2 separate regions of the Homo sapiens genome follow, and region 1 is linked to region 2. The links are contacts of gene promoters, found by promoter capture Hi-C in blood cells and fetal thymus (Javierre and others, 2016). All regions are on one chromosome and are shown on one strand. Each heading gives the region's core, a stretch centred on a gene start or on the middle of the fragment in contact. The rest is flanking DNA. Distances are from core to core; before and after follow the strand shown.

The links. The method cuts DNA at HindIII sites, captures the fragments that hold promoters and counts their contacts. A CHiCAGO score of 5 or more calls a contact.
Region 1: a fragment that was not itself captured here is called in contact with the fragment with the promoter of SEMA3D in region 2 in 1 of 17 cell types (activated CD4 T cells); the score reaches 5.6 in activated CD4 T cells.

The regions. Positions count from the first base shown.
Region 1 is chr7:83,841,265-83,848,283 of GRCh38, forward strand. No RefSeq gene overlaps it. Among named protein-coding and RNA genes, the nearest start is that of SEMA3E, 200 kb to the left of the region's middle. The HindIII fragment of the contact is 1,252 bases long and covers 2,993-4,244 here.
Region 2 is chr7:85,185,496-85,192,222 of GRCh38, forward strand. It overlaps SEMA3D (semaphorin 3D), which reads right to left and starts at 1,561. Exons shown (of 19, transcript NM_001384900.1): 1 at 1,183-1,561. RefSeq lists a silencer at 1,373-1,432. The HindIII fragment of the contact is 2,551 bases long and covers 12-2,562 here.

The DNA.
Region 1 (7,019 bases), core at 2,369-4,868, 1.3 Mb before region 2:
ATTTTAATAATGGATTATAATGCCCATTCTATATGTTAATATTTATATTAAATACAATATAATAAATATCAACAAAGTTTGCCAAACCTTTACAAGCATCAATTCATGATGACAATAATTTTTTTTCAAGGCTCTTTGAAGAGTAAGCATGGCTAATTACACCCCCAAGAATTTTTAACTGATATGAGTCATTATGATAATTTGACAGATAGAAAAATAAAAGGTACAAAAGAGGTACAATAACTCCTGATGTCACCATAGAGGCACTGAAAATACAGAGAATAACATTAGGCCTTTAAATACTGTTTACCATATAAGCAAACTCACATTACCCTTGACAAATGTCTCCTAAAAACTAATCTAATTATTTTTAAAAGTTATATGATGAGATTTGTGAATTTTTATTGACTTTGATGAGTACCCCTCACTATTATATTTCAGCTTTTATGGGAGCTTGAATATTTCAGCTTTAGTTTTCTAACCTTTAATTTTCTAACACTATTCCTTGCGACTGGAAAGCATGGACGATGCTTATGTTGATCACCTCCGGATCTCCATTAACTAGGATGGTGCCTAGGACACTACAAAACTCAACATATATTCATAGACTTCATATACATTAGCTTCAGTTCCCTGACTCTAGCTTTAAAGAAGACTTTTTAAATATTAGTACTATCATTTTCAGTAATGATTTCTATCTACATGATTTTTAAAATTGGTAGAGCCTAATTCCATAAGGAGTGTCCATGTTTTTGCTGGTACTCTTCTTCCAACGCTGCTTCTCTGATTCAGCAACTAGTTTTAGATGTTAAGTGCTTAATACAAAATAGGAATAGAAGTTAAGTAAATAAATATTAACTTCAAAGTAATTCATATGTCTACTTTTCTCTTAGGGTAACAAAATCTTTAATAAAAAGCAGTTGAAGTCTTCTTTTAAATGTGATACCGTTCTTATTCTGTTACCAGAGATGTTTAAAGATTGTATTTTATTATTAACTCAAATGTGCTTATAAGCAAAACATTTTTCTTGTATCCTTGCTGCCATAATCAGTAGGGATAAGAATTTTGTAAAGCTGATGTGGCATTGTCTTATGTCCTCAGAAAGCGATCTCACCTCTGCCATGAAAATACATAAATGTACCCTGGAAAGAAAGTCTACTCAGTGTTTCCATGTTATCACAAATAATTTGTTCAGTGTTTACAGTTATTAACACCACTGAAATAGCTGGGGACTAATTAGCTCAGTTTGAAAATGTAAATTCGGTAAGCTTGACATCCGTTTTAGAAACTGAATTTTTGTCATCAATAAACTTCCTTTAGGGATAAGGTACAAAAATGCATTGAACATTTTCCAGGGCACACCTCTAAGTTAGTGATATCTTTTCCATCGGTGGAGTTTTGCTTGACTTGCATCACAATCCCTTTTGATAGGATCCCTGTAGCATCAATTAGCATAGTGTGCACCTTGTGTCATTTCAGCTACCTGCAATATTTAAAGAATAACTTTAAAAGATTAGCACCCTCAAATAAGAAAGGCAGTATAATGTACTGTCTGAAAGAGTGGATTCTGAAATCAGAATACTTGGGCTTAAATCTGCCTCAACCATGTGTTACCTTGCATAGTGTATTACCTAATGGCCATTTGCCTCTGTTTTCTTATCTGTAAAATGGAGCCAATAATAGTATTTGAGTCATTCTGGAGAGTAAATACAAATGAAAGTGTTAGCCTGGTACATATTAGGTGCTTGATATGGTTTGGCTCTGTGTCACTACCAAAATCTCATCTTGAATTGTAGTCCCCACGTGTCAAGGGAGGAAGCCAATGGGAGGTGACTGGTTTATGGCGGTGGTTTCCCTGATGCTGTTCTCATGATAGTGAGTGAGTCTCACAAGATCTGATGATGTTTGTTTTTTTTAGATGGAGTCTCGCTCTGTCGCCCAGGCTAGAGTGCAACAGCACAGTCTCAGCTCACTGCAACCCACACCTCCAGTGTTCGAGCGATTCTCCTGCCTCAGCCTCCCAAGTAGCTGGGATTACAGGCACCTGCCACCACGCCCGGCTAATTTTTGTATTTTTAGTAGAGACGGGGTTTCACCATTTTGACCAGGCTGGTCTCCAACTCCTGACCTCAGGTGATCTGCCTGTCTAGGCCCCGCAAAGTTCTGGGATTACAGTCATGAGCCACCGCGTCCAACCCGATGGTTTTAAAAGTGGCAGTATTTTCTGTGCTCGCACTTCACTTCTCCTGCTTGCAGTCATGTAAGAGGTGCCTGCTTCCTCTTCTGCCGTGATTGTAAGTTTCCTGAGGCCTCCCCAGCCATGCAGAACGGTGAGTCAATTAAACTTCTTTTCTTTATAAATTACTCATACTTGGGTATTTATAACAGTGTGAAAATGGATTAATACAGTGCTCAATAAATATTAACTTGTTCTGATGATTAATGTAATAATTATTGATGATTCCAGTGTATAAAATGTATTCATAGATGCTTTCAATAATCTGGCCTCTCAGTTTGCTGAATACTTCTTCTCTGGTAATCTCGTCCTCAAACCTCTTTCAGACAAACTTATAGCGGTACTGAAGTGTTTAATATGGTAAACACATGTGACTATTTATTCTTAATGTAAATGCACAAAATTAAATAAAATTGGAATTTTGTTCCTCAGTTGCACTAGCCACATTTCAAATGCTCATTAGCCAGTTGTGGCTAGTAACTATTATATTGCACAGCACAGATACAGAGCATTTCTATTATAACAGAAAATTTTATAGAATAGCACTGCTGTAGACCTTGCATTCAATAATGTTAACTGCTTTCCTATCTCAATTCTATGCATTATACTCTTATCATCACTTCCTATCTTTAAGCTCACTTTCTTTTACAATGACTTCAACTAAGTTTTGACTTTATCATTTCCTCTAATTCATCAGTTCTCAAACTTTTTAGTCTCATAAACTCTACACTCCTAAAATTACTGAGGATGCCTAAAAGCTTTTATTTATGTGAGTAGCATCTTGGTTATTTGTTGTATTATAAATTTAAAGTGAAAAATTAAAAATAATTTATATGTTAATTAAAATAGCAAAAATAAATTAGTTATATGTTAACAGGAACAACCCATTTTAACATAAAATTTAACATTTGGGAGATTGTTATATTTTGCAAAGCAAAAGCAAATTTAGAGAAAACAGTATTAGCATTGTTTTACATTTTGCAAATCTCTTTAATGTCTGGTTTAAAAGATGGCAGCTGGATTCTCATATTTTCTTTTGCATTAAATCTATTGTGATATCACCCCCTATGAGCTGTAAAACTCCACTGCAAAGTCATCAGCAATAAGAGTGACAAAGGCAAATAATATCTTAGTAGTGTTATGAAAACTTGGATCTTCTGGATCTCCTGAAAGGATCTTTGAGAACCTCATGACGATCCATTGAGGACTACTGTTCTAGATCTGACTCTCTTTCAGTGTCCTTCACTCCCTCAGATTGTCTGTCCACTTTCTACCCAGCTTAAATACTTTCTTGTACATAAAATTAATTTCCTTACATATAATTCTTTGGCATGCCAGCTTGAGAAAGTCACAACCATGGTTAAATGCTACTATTCCACAGCTGCATCTGTGCAGATGAAAGCAGGAAAAAGATCACACAAGAACGTGGTCTTATCTCACTTGATGTCCTCTCAGTATTGTGAGGCAGTGATGCTATGCATCACAGACTGTCTATCCCTCACTTTCATCTTTTGCTCCTAACCCCCTATATCTCTTCCCTATGGTCACTCTCAATGACCGATCTCACTGAGAAAAGCAAGCATTTAGGAGAGAACTTCCACAGACTCTTTCCATCTTCTATAGATGCTTCCAACACCTATTTGTTGGTGCATGATCTCTGATTCTATCCATTACTGTGAAAGAACACTCCGCAGGCCTGACTAATCCATCAATTCATGGGAGCATAGATCCTTTCTTCCTTCATCTAAGCAAGAACCTCTCTCTACGATTTATTTTCTTTCCTCTTTACACTACCAATGTTTTCTTTTTATCAGTTCATTCCCATTATCATATAAACAAACTATTGTTTCCCAATTTAAAAACATATCTTCTTTTGACCCAACTTGTAGGAGCTACCATCCCATTTATAACAAAAAATATTCCAAAAGTCACTTGGAATTACAAAAGTCATTTGGAAGCCCTATTTCAAATACCCCTCTCCAATTCATTCTTAAACGCATTCTGATCAAGCTTTCATCCCTGCCTTCCTCAGAATCTGCTTCTGTCAATTTCACCCCCAGGTTGATAAAATCTAATGATTTATTTCTGGTTCTCACCTTAATTGTCTTATCAAAGTATTTAATATGGTTGATCACCTTTCCTCCTTTGATACACACCTGTTACGGGGTGTATTAGTCCGTATTCACACTGCTGATAAAGACATACCCAAGATTGGGTGATTTATAAAGAAAAAGAGATTTCATAAACTCACAGTTCCGTGTGGCTGGGGAGGCCTCACAACCATGGTGGAAGGCAAAAGGCATGTCTTACATGGTGGCAAGCAAGAGAAAATGAGAGCCAAGTGAAAGGGAAAACCCCTTATAAAACCATCAGAGCTCATGGGACTTATTAACTATCACGAGAACGTATTAGGGGAAACCACTCCCATGATTCAATTATCTCCCACCAAGTCCCTCCCACAACACATGGGAATTATGTGACCCACAATTCAAGATGAGATTTGGGTGGGGACACAGCCAAATCATATCTCTAGGCTTCCAGGACATAACTCTCCTATATGCTTTCCTCAGCTTTTGCCATCCTTCTTAGTTTTGGCATACCTAAAGTCCCTTTCTCTTCTCTATGTATACTTGTTGTTTTGTTGACCTCATCCGGTTTTAATATCACCCCTATACTGCTAACTTCTAAATTAGAATCCTCAATCCAAAACTTTCCCCTGAACACCAGATTGTATAGCCAAATGCCCCCTTGACAGTTTCACTTAGTTGTCAAATCGGTATCTTTAATGTGTTCCAAATGAATTACTGATCTCCATTCACAGACTTTCCCATCTCAGTTGATAGCAAATCCGCTCTTGACAATGCTCAGACCATAGGCTTTAGAATTAATAGTACCCTTTCTTTTTATCCCTCACCCAGTCTATTATAAAATCCTAATGACTCTACTAAAATGTGGCTAGTGAGACTGAGGAACTGAATTTTAAATTCTATTTCATTTTAATTAATTTAAATTTAATATTCACCTATAGCTGGTGGTTAAACATTGGGTAGCACATGCCTAGACTGACCACTAAAATAATAAAGATTAAATCAGTATTAGGAAAAAAATAATTGATAATAGTTTTCAGTACATCCAACAGAAAGTAGGATAGAAAAGAAGAAATAATATAGACCAGTCAGGATGAAGAGAAAGCAAAGAAGATTCTTGCATTCTGCATTTACTGGTACATTATTTTTGTCTAAAGTAGTGCCTGGCACATTGTAAGCGTTCAGTAGGTATTGAATAGATATTACTATTAGGTTTTTGAGCCTCCTGTTATTAAACCAAAGATAAAGATTTTGTATGTTTTTGTGTGAATTCTGTTTTATGCTTAATATTTAATCCCTAAAATCAATATTTTATGTCACAACTTAAAAAAATACCATCATCTTTACACAACGATTATGAAAATGTAAGTTTTTGATGGCTTAAAGCCCCATGGTAAGTGTCTTCCTAACATACAGTTCTTTGCACTATATTAAAATGTCACCTACATGTAAAAGTGCTTTACTCCTGAGTTTTGGAATGGTAGATACATTCAATGAGACAGATAATGTCCTCTCAATAGTTGCACAGAGTCTAAGTTTCTTTATTTAGATGACTCTAGACTATGGATAGATTATAGATAAACATATTTTCTCCAACAAAAATATCGTTAGGGAAATTTATGTTTTTCATTATTTTGCTAATAAACTTATTACTATTACTTAGAAGAAGTTGTTTCCTGATTTTTCATGGCTTGAGCATGATAAATTTTATTTTAAGGGATTCATACCAAGATAATTGTCATATGTCAAAAAATACCTTTATTGCTTTCAAAACTTAAAGTCTGTTGACCACCTAAAAGAAAAAAATGGCAATAACCTAAGAAAGATTCTGTCATTTCATTCATTAACATAATTAACTCATGGAAATGCTTTTCTTCCTTGTGTGCTAGCATTAAGAACTTATTTAAATGGGCACATTTACAAATGTCAGAACTATTGAATGGCACAATGTGTATCTTTTACCAAAATAAAAAAATCCTTAATAACAGTTTATAAAGATTCATTGTACAGAGTACATACAGTAATATATATATGATTTATTAAAATGTATTTTTTATTATGACTTTAAATCAAGTTTAGATTTCCCTTATAATTTCTCACTAAAACTGAATGCTTAAAATCCAGTATTCTGTTGGGAAAACATTTAAAATTAGTATGTTAAAATTCAGCATATTTTCCCAGCAAATTCTGGGAAAAAATATAGTAGAGATATTTTATATATTTTTAAATCTTTTGTAAGGCCTACTGTATTGGGCATCTGGAAAAATGAGAATTCTTCTTGTTATATTAATAATTTATTAGTTTCAATTACAAAATGCCAGTGTGTGTGTGTTTATGTATATTACACATATCTCTCTATTTATCTCTCTTTTTCTAACTCTCCTGCAAAATCCACTTTGTAAAGTTAAAAATTCAATCCATGACCTACTTTTTTATTATATTCAACATCAGATTCACAATTCTGTGAAACAAAATGTAGAATATTCCTCATTGGAGAATAGAAAGATAGAAACCATTTCTCTTGACTTAAATAAATGTAAAGCTCCTTATAAGTCTCAATGTGGATCAGATCGTCTGGGCTGTAAATTATCCTAAGAAAATAAAGTTAATGTCTGTTGAAACTGAATCATGTTTTACTTAACAACTTGCTTAACTTACTCCTCACATGAGACAAATAGCAGTCTATTCTCACCTCT
Region 2 (6,727 bases), core at 311-2,810:
CCACGCACAGAAGCTTGCCTTTTATTACCGCTTCGCTCGAGGCGAAATCGCTGAAAGTTCGGCTATTTAACTCCTGTCCCCATAACTCGGAATCCCGGACACCAGCGGCCCCAGCTGCTGGCGCGCGGCTCTCTTCCAGTCCCCTGGATCCCAAAGCTCCCTGCCACAGCGCGGCGTCTCCTCCTCCTGTCAACTTCCCTCCTTGCACTGTGACGGAGGCAAAGCAACTCAGCCCAGGAGGTTGAACTCGAGTCATCAGAGAAGGAGAAACAGTGCCGAAAACGGCCCGTGCGCTACCAGGGTAGCCCATTAACGCATTAACTCCAGGCTCGTTGGGCAGAAGCCGGGAGGAAACACCCTGGGGACCGCACTCCTGGTTAAATGCCCAGCACGAGTCAAATCCGGCCTTTCCAAAGCGAGCCAAGCCCACTACTACAAAGAGATCCCCCGAGTGTTTTGCCTTAACCACATTTCAGACAGCCAGCTTTGTGGCTGCTGTTTGACTCCAACTTTCCCTCTAAATCTAAAAGGATGCACACTTCCATCAGACGGAACGTCGCGATTCCCCGGCGAAGAAAAAGGCGTCGCCCATTCCTCTTCCAAAACGCTACAACAAAAACCACCACGCTTCCCTTCCTTCTTCCTTGCCCCTTTCCCTTCTCCCAGACCAACAAGGAAAGGAGCGAGCGAGGGCGCAGATGCCCTTTGGTCAAGTACTCCCCGGATGTTCCCGACTAAAGCGTCTCCAAATGAACCTGCAGCCTGCGGAAGCCGGGGACACATTCATAGACGCTCTCTGCTGCCCAGACCAGGAGGGGTGGTGGGGGAACCAGGAAGCCAGGGAGAGAGCAAAGTTCCTGGACGCGTCTCAGGAGGAAAACTTTGTGCAGTGCTGCCAGGCGGAGGCTCGTCAGAAGGCTCCGCAGCTGCTGAGGCGGGGTGGGACTGCGCCCCAGGGGCCGCGCTGAAGCTGGCGCCGCGATTACTGCGCACCGATTTCGCCCACTCTCTGTCCGCTCCCGGGAGCCTTCTCTGTCTCAGGACGGTTCCTTATCTCCCAAACCATGCTCGTCCTCCACTTCGGACCCACAGCCACCCCCAAATCCCGGCTATCCCCGCTTAGCACCGCGGTCTCCAGCACACCCTCCCACTGGAGTAGCAGGTGACCCAAACCAGACTTACCTGCTGTGAACTCTTCTCTCCCTCTCTCTTTTCCTGGTGCCTTTTCAGGGAGAGGGGAACGGGATGCAGGCTGAGGTCCAGCGGCGCGGCAACCCGGGGCACCGGCGCGCGTTCCTCTGAGCCGCAGCCCTGGCTGAGCAAGCGGAGCCGCCGGCAGCCCTGGCAGAGCCGGGAAGCTGCGGCCGCAGGGGCCAGGCCGGGAGGCAGGGGGCGCTGCTGCCTCCCCCGAGAGCCGCGCTAGGACAGGCGGAGAGCAAGGCACCAGCTGGAGCTTTGGGGAGGAGAGGGTGGCGAGGAAAGGCACGCTCCAAACAGGAGGGCGGCTTTTAAGTTTGTGGTGTGACCGCAGCAGCTGTCCTGGGAGAGACTCAGTCTTTCTAAAAAGAGGATGCTGAAAACGCCGGGGATTACCTTTCCCCTTCCGATCTCCTCCCCCAGCCCTCGCCCCCTCCTTCCACTGCGCACGCCAGAACTCCCAAGCGTGCAGAAGTTCATCCCTGCTGCGCGGAGGCTGCCAGCAGCGTGGATTTAGAGGTAGCCCTGGCCAAGCGCTGACGGATGTTTATCAGGACAGGGCACCCTATGTGTAAAGCAACCTCTAACGTCTGATCTTCCTTCTGGGTGACTTGGGGACTTCTTTAGTTCCTTCTCTATACCATAAAACCTGTTAAGGGACCCCATGAGGAAGAAACAGGGAGAGTGACCACAAACACCGTCCTAAAAATGCTAATCCCACAAAACAGTACCTGCGTTCCACTATGTAAAACCTCAATCCACGGTTAATGGCCTTGACAAGGCAGGCATAGGGATGAGGAACAGGGATCAACCCTCCGTTAAGGGGCTGGCACCCGATTAAGACCAAACAGGGAGAGATAAAAACGAGTAGAATGTAATCCTTTCTTCCTCTTTCCCTTACGCCAGACCTACAAAGAGGTGTGCCTCATATCCTTGTCTTCGGGAGTTTTTTAGATTTTTGCACCCCTTATTCACACAGTAGGAACTTAGAAGTATATAATGACGAGAAGATCTAAGTTTTGATGAACCTGGATCCTATGCAATTGGAATAGAGGATCCTCTTTAAGCAAAAGTAATGCAGAAATATCTCACTTCTACAGATTCTGCAAAAATATATGACAATGAGAGTTCATGAGGCCACCGTCAGGGACATTAAAAAGGCCTGTGCATTTGGTGAGCCCTGTACGTTAGGCATTTTTAGCTGCATGGTAAATCCTTTGTGATGGGATATCCAGGTTTATAGTCACACACCTTGCCCTTAGTCCCAAACATAAATCTGACATGAGGTAGAGACATGGAAAGCAAGCAGCCACGGGATCCTGCATTTGTCAGCTTGATTTAAGAGCACAAGGTGTAGGGTCCCAAAGCTTCCTTAGCAAGTAACAAGAGATATCTTGATTTGGAGATGGTGAACAGACAAATGCAGTAATGGAATAACTGAAAGGGGTGGAAGACATTCTTCATTTGACCTTTTATCTGTGGCAGAGGGCTGAGGGCCACAGAAGCTAAAGGAGTCATTTTAAGTTATAAATGGTTGATGGCAGAGTCAGGCTAAGGAAAGGCTCAGGTTTCTCAAATCTGACCAAGGCTCTTTCTTGTGTCTCATGCTGCCCCATCTCTATAACCTTGGTTTGGACTCACAACCAATCAACCCCATAAATACCCTCTTTGGATAGAGAAAAAAATTTTAAATCCTCGTAGACTATTTCAAACTATAGCAACTTTTATTTTTTTTCTGAATGCTTTATATTTAATGTTATACCACTCATTCTGTACATAGTCATGCAATTGTTTATTGTATGTTTCTATGTGTTTATATTATTTTCATTTGTATATGTCATTGCACTTCCATGCAAATTGCAATGTCATTGTGCAAATAAAATATCTCTTTTTTTCTCCCGTATATGGTGGGTTTATAGTAAGTAGTTTTTGATTTTTAGAAAATCTCTATTTTTAAACTTTTAAATAATTTTGTCAGTTTATTGGCCAGAATTTTGTGTTTAACTAGAATTGTGGTTAACTTTGGATTTCCCATTTTCCTCCTTTCTCTTTTAAGTTGTAGCTTAATATGCTTAAACCAAATGACACCTTCCTTTGCTACCATTCAATACTTTCCATAAAGCCCTTACAGAATTAATCACTCCCTCCTGTTTTCCCAAAGCACTTTGATTTCACTACTATAATAAGCTCTTTTCACTTTATATTATAATTAGTTATGCATGTGTCTGCATCCCATACAAAAGTGTTGGCTGTTTTGTGTCTTTGTTTCTTCAGCCTCTAATACAATGCCTGTGACATTGTATTGTACTGATTTAGTTTGAGATGCTCAGACTTCAAATTTAGACAGAATTTACCAGAGTATCCTGAACATATCATGAGAAAACAACATCTGGAACGTGAATTCTGTGCTTTCCTTCCTTTTAATGACTCTGAGCACAAAGCAGATGGAATCAACTGTTAATATGTTGCCCAATGTGATGAATGGCCTCAGCTGTGTCCATGGCTCCGTAATCTTCAGGCTGCTTCCCTGAATGTCTTGAATGTGTTAGGTGCTTAACAAATATTTGTGTGTTAAACGAGTTAATAAAAACAGTAGAAATAATGTTAATATTCAGTCACTGGATTTATTTCTGAATTTCTAATAACTGTATAGGGTCCCACCAAGATAGTTTTAACAACCCTTTCTAAGAGTTTGAGATCTACTTTCATCAAAAGCAATTTGGTATTCTGTCCTATAGGGCTAATACCCTATCTAAATTCTTAAAATAAAACCCAGTGGGAAAAAAAGTATATTTTACAAAAAGTTTTGCTAAAATACAAGGTGTATTGTGCAGTTTAGTTTGTCTTCAAGGGTGACTATTCAAGATTTAACGAGTGAGCCTTAATTTCACTGAAAGCGATGTGTATATCATCAGTTAAAACCACCTAATTGTTGCTTGTATGCCTGTTTCAGTCCAAGGGGAAAAATACAAACAAAAAGAAAAAGGAAAGAAAACAAATAACTTTCATGTTCTTGGAAACATTATTGAATAAATAAATTGTGTGCCTTGAGAATCTAGGCTATTCTGAGACATACTACTCCTCACCCATCTCTATTTGGGCTCACAAATATAATATGAGTAAGTAATTTTCATTTTATGGTAGTAATATGTGTTAGGCAATATGAAATACACTATTTCTCAAAGGATCACATTTAATGCCAAACAAATCCAAAGAATAAAATTCTAATTGTAGAATTTCAGTAATCATCCATCTATGTTGAGAGCCATGGGAGAAGGCAGCAGGGATGGGTTAGGGTAGAATAGACATATTGTAGGCTTCTCCAATTCCACATATAGCTACCTCTGAACAGAAGACAGGAGAAAGGTAATTACTGGGTCCAGAGCTTAAATCTAGCAGAAGATTTGGCTGTCCTCTCAGCAGAAGATACTAAAACCAACAAAATCTACAATCCTAGTTCTCTCTGAACAGTTTTATATTCACAAATCAAATGAAAATTTGGTGAATTTGAAAGAAAATTATTGATGAAGGAGACCTCAAAGTTTATACACAGAGGCAAACAAGAAAAATTGTGTTAAAAAGCATGTCATTTTAATGTTTACTTCTCTAAAACTAGTCATACCTTAGTCATTCAGAAAACCTCTCTGTCTTATAATAAATATCACCTTATAAACGTTTTCTCATATATCACCTTATCAGCACTGACTGATAAGAAATGTTGTTATCCTCATCCAAGAAAATCGGCGTGTATGTTAAGTTACATCTAGTTGGAACAAGTGAGTGCATGAGTTTAAAGCAGCTCACCCAGCCCCTTATCTTCTATTAGCTATTTTCTTCTTATAAACTCCAGGTATTTTTTTCCATCTATTTCATTTGATCGTAGCAATACACTCATCACTGGATCATTAGATATTTACATTATAAAATCATCTGATGTGTTTAATGGTGGGGAAAAAAACACACCTGACTTTCATCTTTTATTTCTGTATTAATTATAATACATAGAACTCTCAGAAGTAAATGCATCCCTGCTTCTCATCATCAGATAAAGACAGAAAACAGTTTATCTTTAGTTAATTGGTATGTAAAACTGTCCAAACTTTGCTTCATACTTTTAAGTTTTAAACTCTTATAAAATCATAAATAATCATAAACATTCATAGTCAGAAGACACCTCAAAACCTTCTATCCCTCATGTTAGACACAAGGAAACCAGGGCCAAGGAAGACATAGTTATCACTCAGCTCCTTATGACTTCTGACTTGATGCCCTCTGTAGAATATTTCACCCTGCTATAGAGACTTTTCTTAAAAAAAGAAAAGAAAAAAAAATCAGCTATTTTTCAAAACTGTCCAAGCCAGAATCTTAAGGCTATATTTACTTAGCTGGGTTGGGGTGTGGTGAATAATTAAGTTCAGCAGGAATGTGCTTCAAAATAAAAATAAAAACACAGTCCAGCCTCTTTGGCCCAAATCCTGAGACTTCAGAAAAGAAAATCCTTCTTGACTACCAACATTCACTAGAATTTGGAACGGTTTTCCACGCCTGATATAGGAGTCTATATGGTTGTTGCAGATTGGGATAATTTAGTCAGATAAATGGCTTTTTGTGTTTGATTTGTAACAATGTACTTATATCAATAAACAATCCCCAAGGAAGGATTTTAAGGAAAAATAAACAACTTTCCTATGCACAATATAAAAAATCATCTTTAAGTTTTCTTTTTAAAAATACTTTCATACTACCACCATTCTACCCTTACAGCATGTTTTAGATACAGTGTATTCTTCTAAGAAAATGAGGTTGAGGAGGGAATTCCTGTGATACCCAGCTGAGGCAAGCCTTATTTGTGTATGAGTGACGAAATAAAGAAAAATATGCCCTCTTGTGGCTTATTTGTTCTGGTTCACAATTAATCAACAGTACTCTATTATTTCCTGAAACCCAGACATACCTGTATTCCAAGTGGAATTAAACTATTTCTTTGTGCAGTAACTGGCAAGAGCAGGTCCATACAGACAGCAGGAAGGCATTCCAACACTTCTGCTTTGTTCAAGGTCATAAGCAGCTGCTTAGCCACAGTGAAATCAGTATCCCTGAAAAGGAAGATTTTCCAAAATAACCCATAAATTTATATAGATATTATCAAAATCCCTTCCAAATAAATGCATTAGATAGAGTTTCTTTGCTAAATATTGAGGTTTGTTTTGGATAGACTTAAACCATCAGTTTCCACAAATGGGAGAAAATTCATGATTTGCTTTTCTACTATATTTGTGCCTCTACTATTTCTTTGACTGTAAGACATGTTTATTTTTCCACTATGAAAAGTGAAGTGTATAATAAAGCATTTAAGATAATAGTGATTTTCATTCTTGCATATTTTTATCTCCTTTTGCCCTACTTTACTCAGAAATTAGGATGTAAAAAGTGTGTTACATATTGTGGGCTGCAGATATAATTAATTTTATAATATTACAAAAAATGCCCAACATGTTTTTCTAAAACAACAAAAATGAAAATGGGTTTA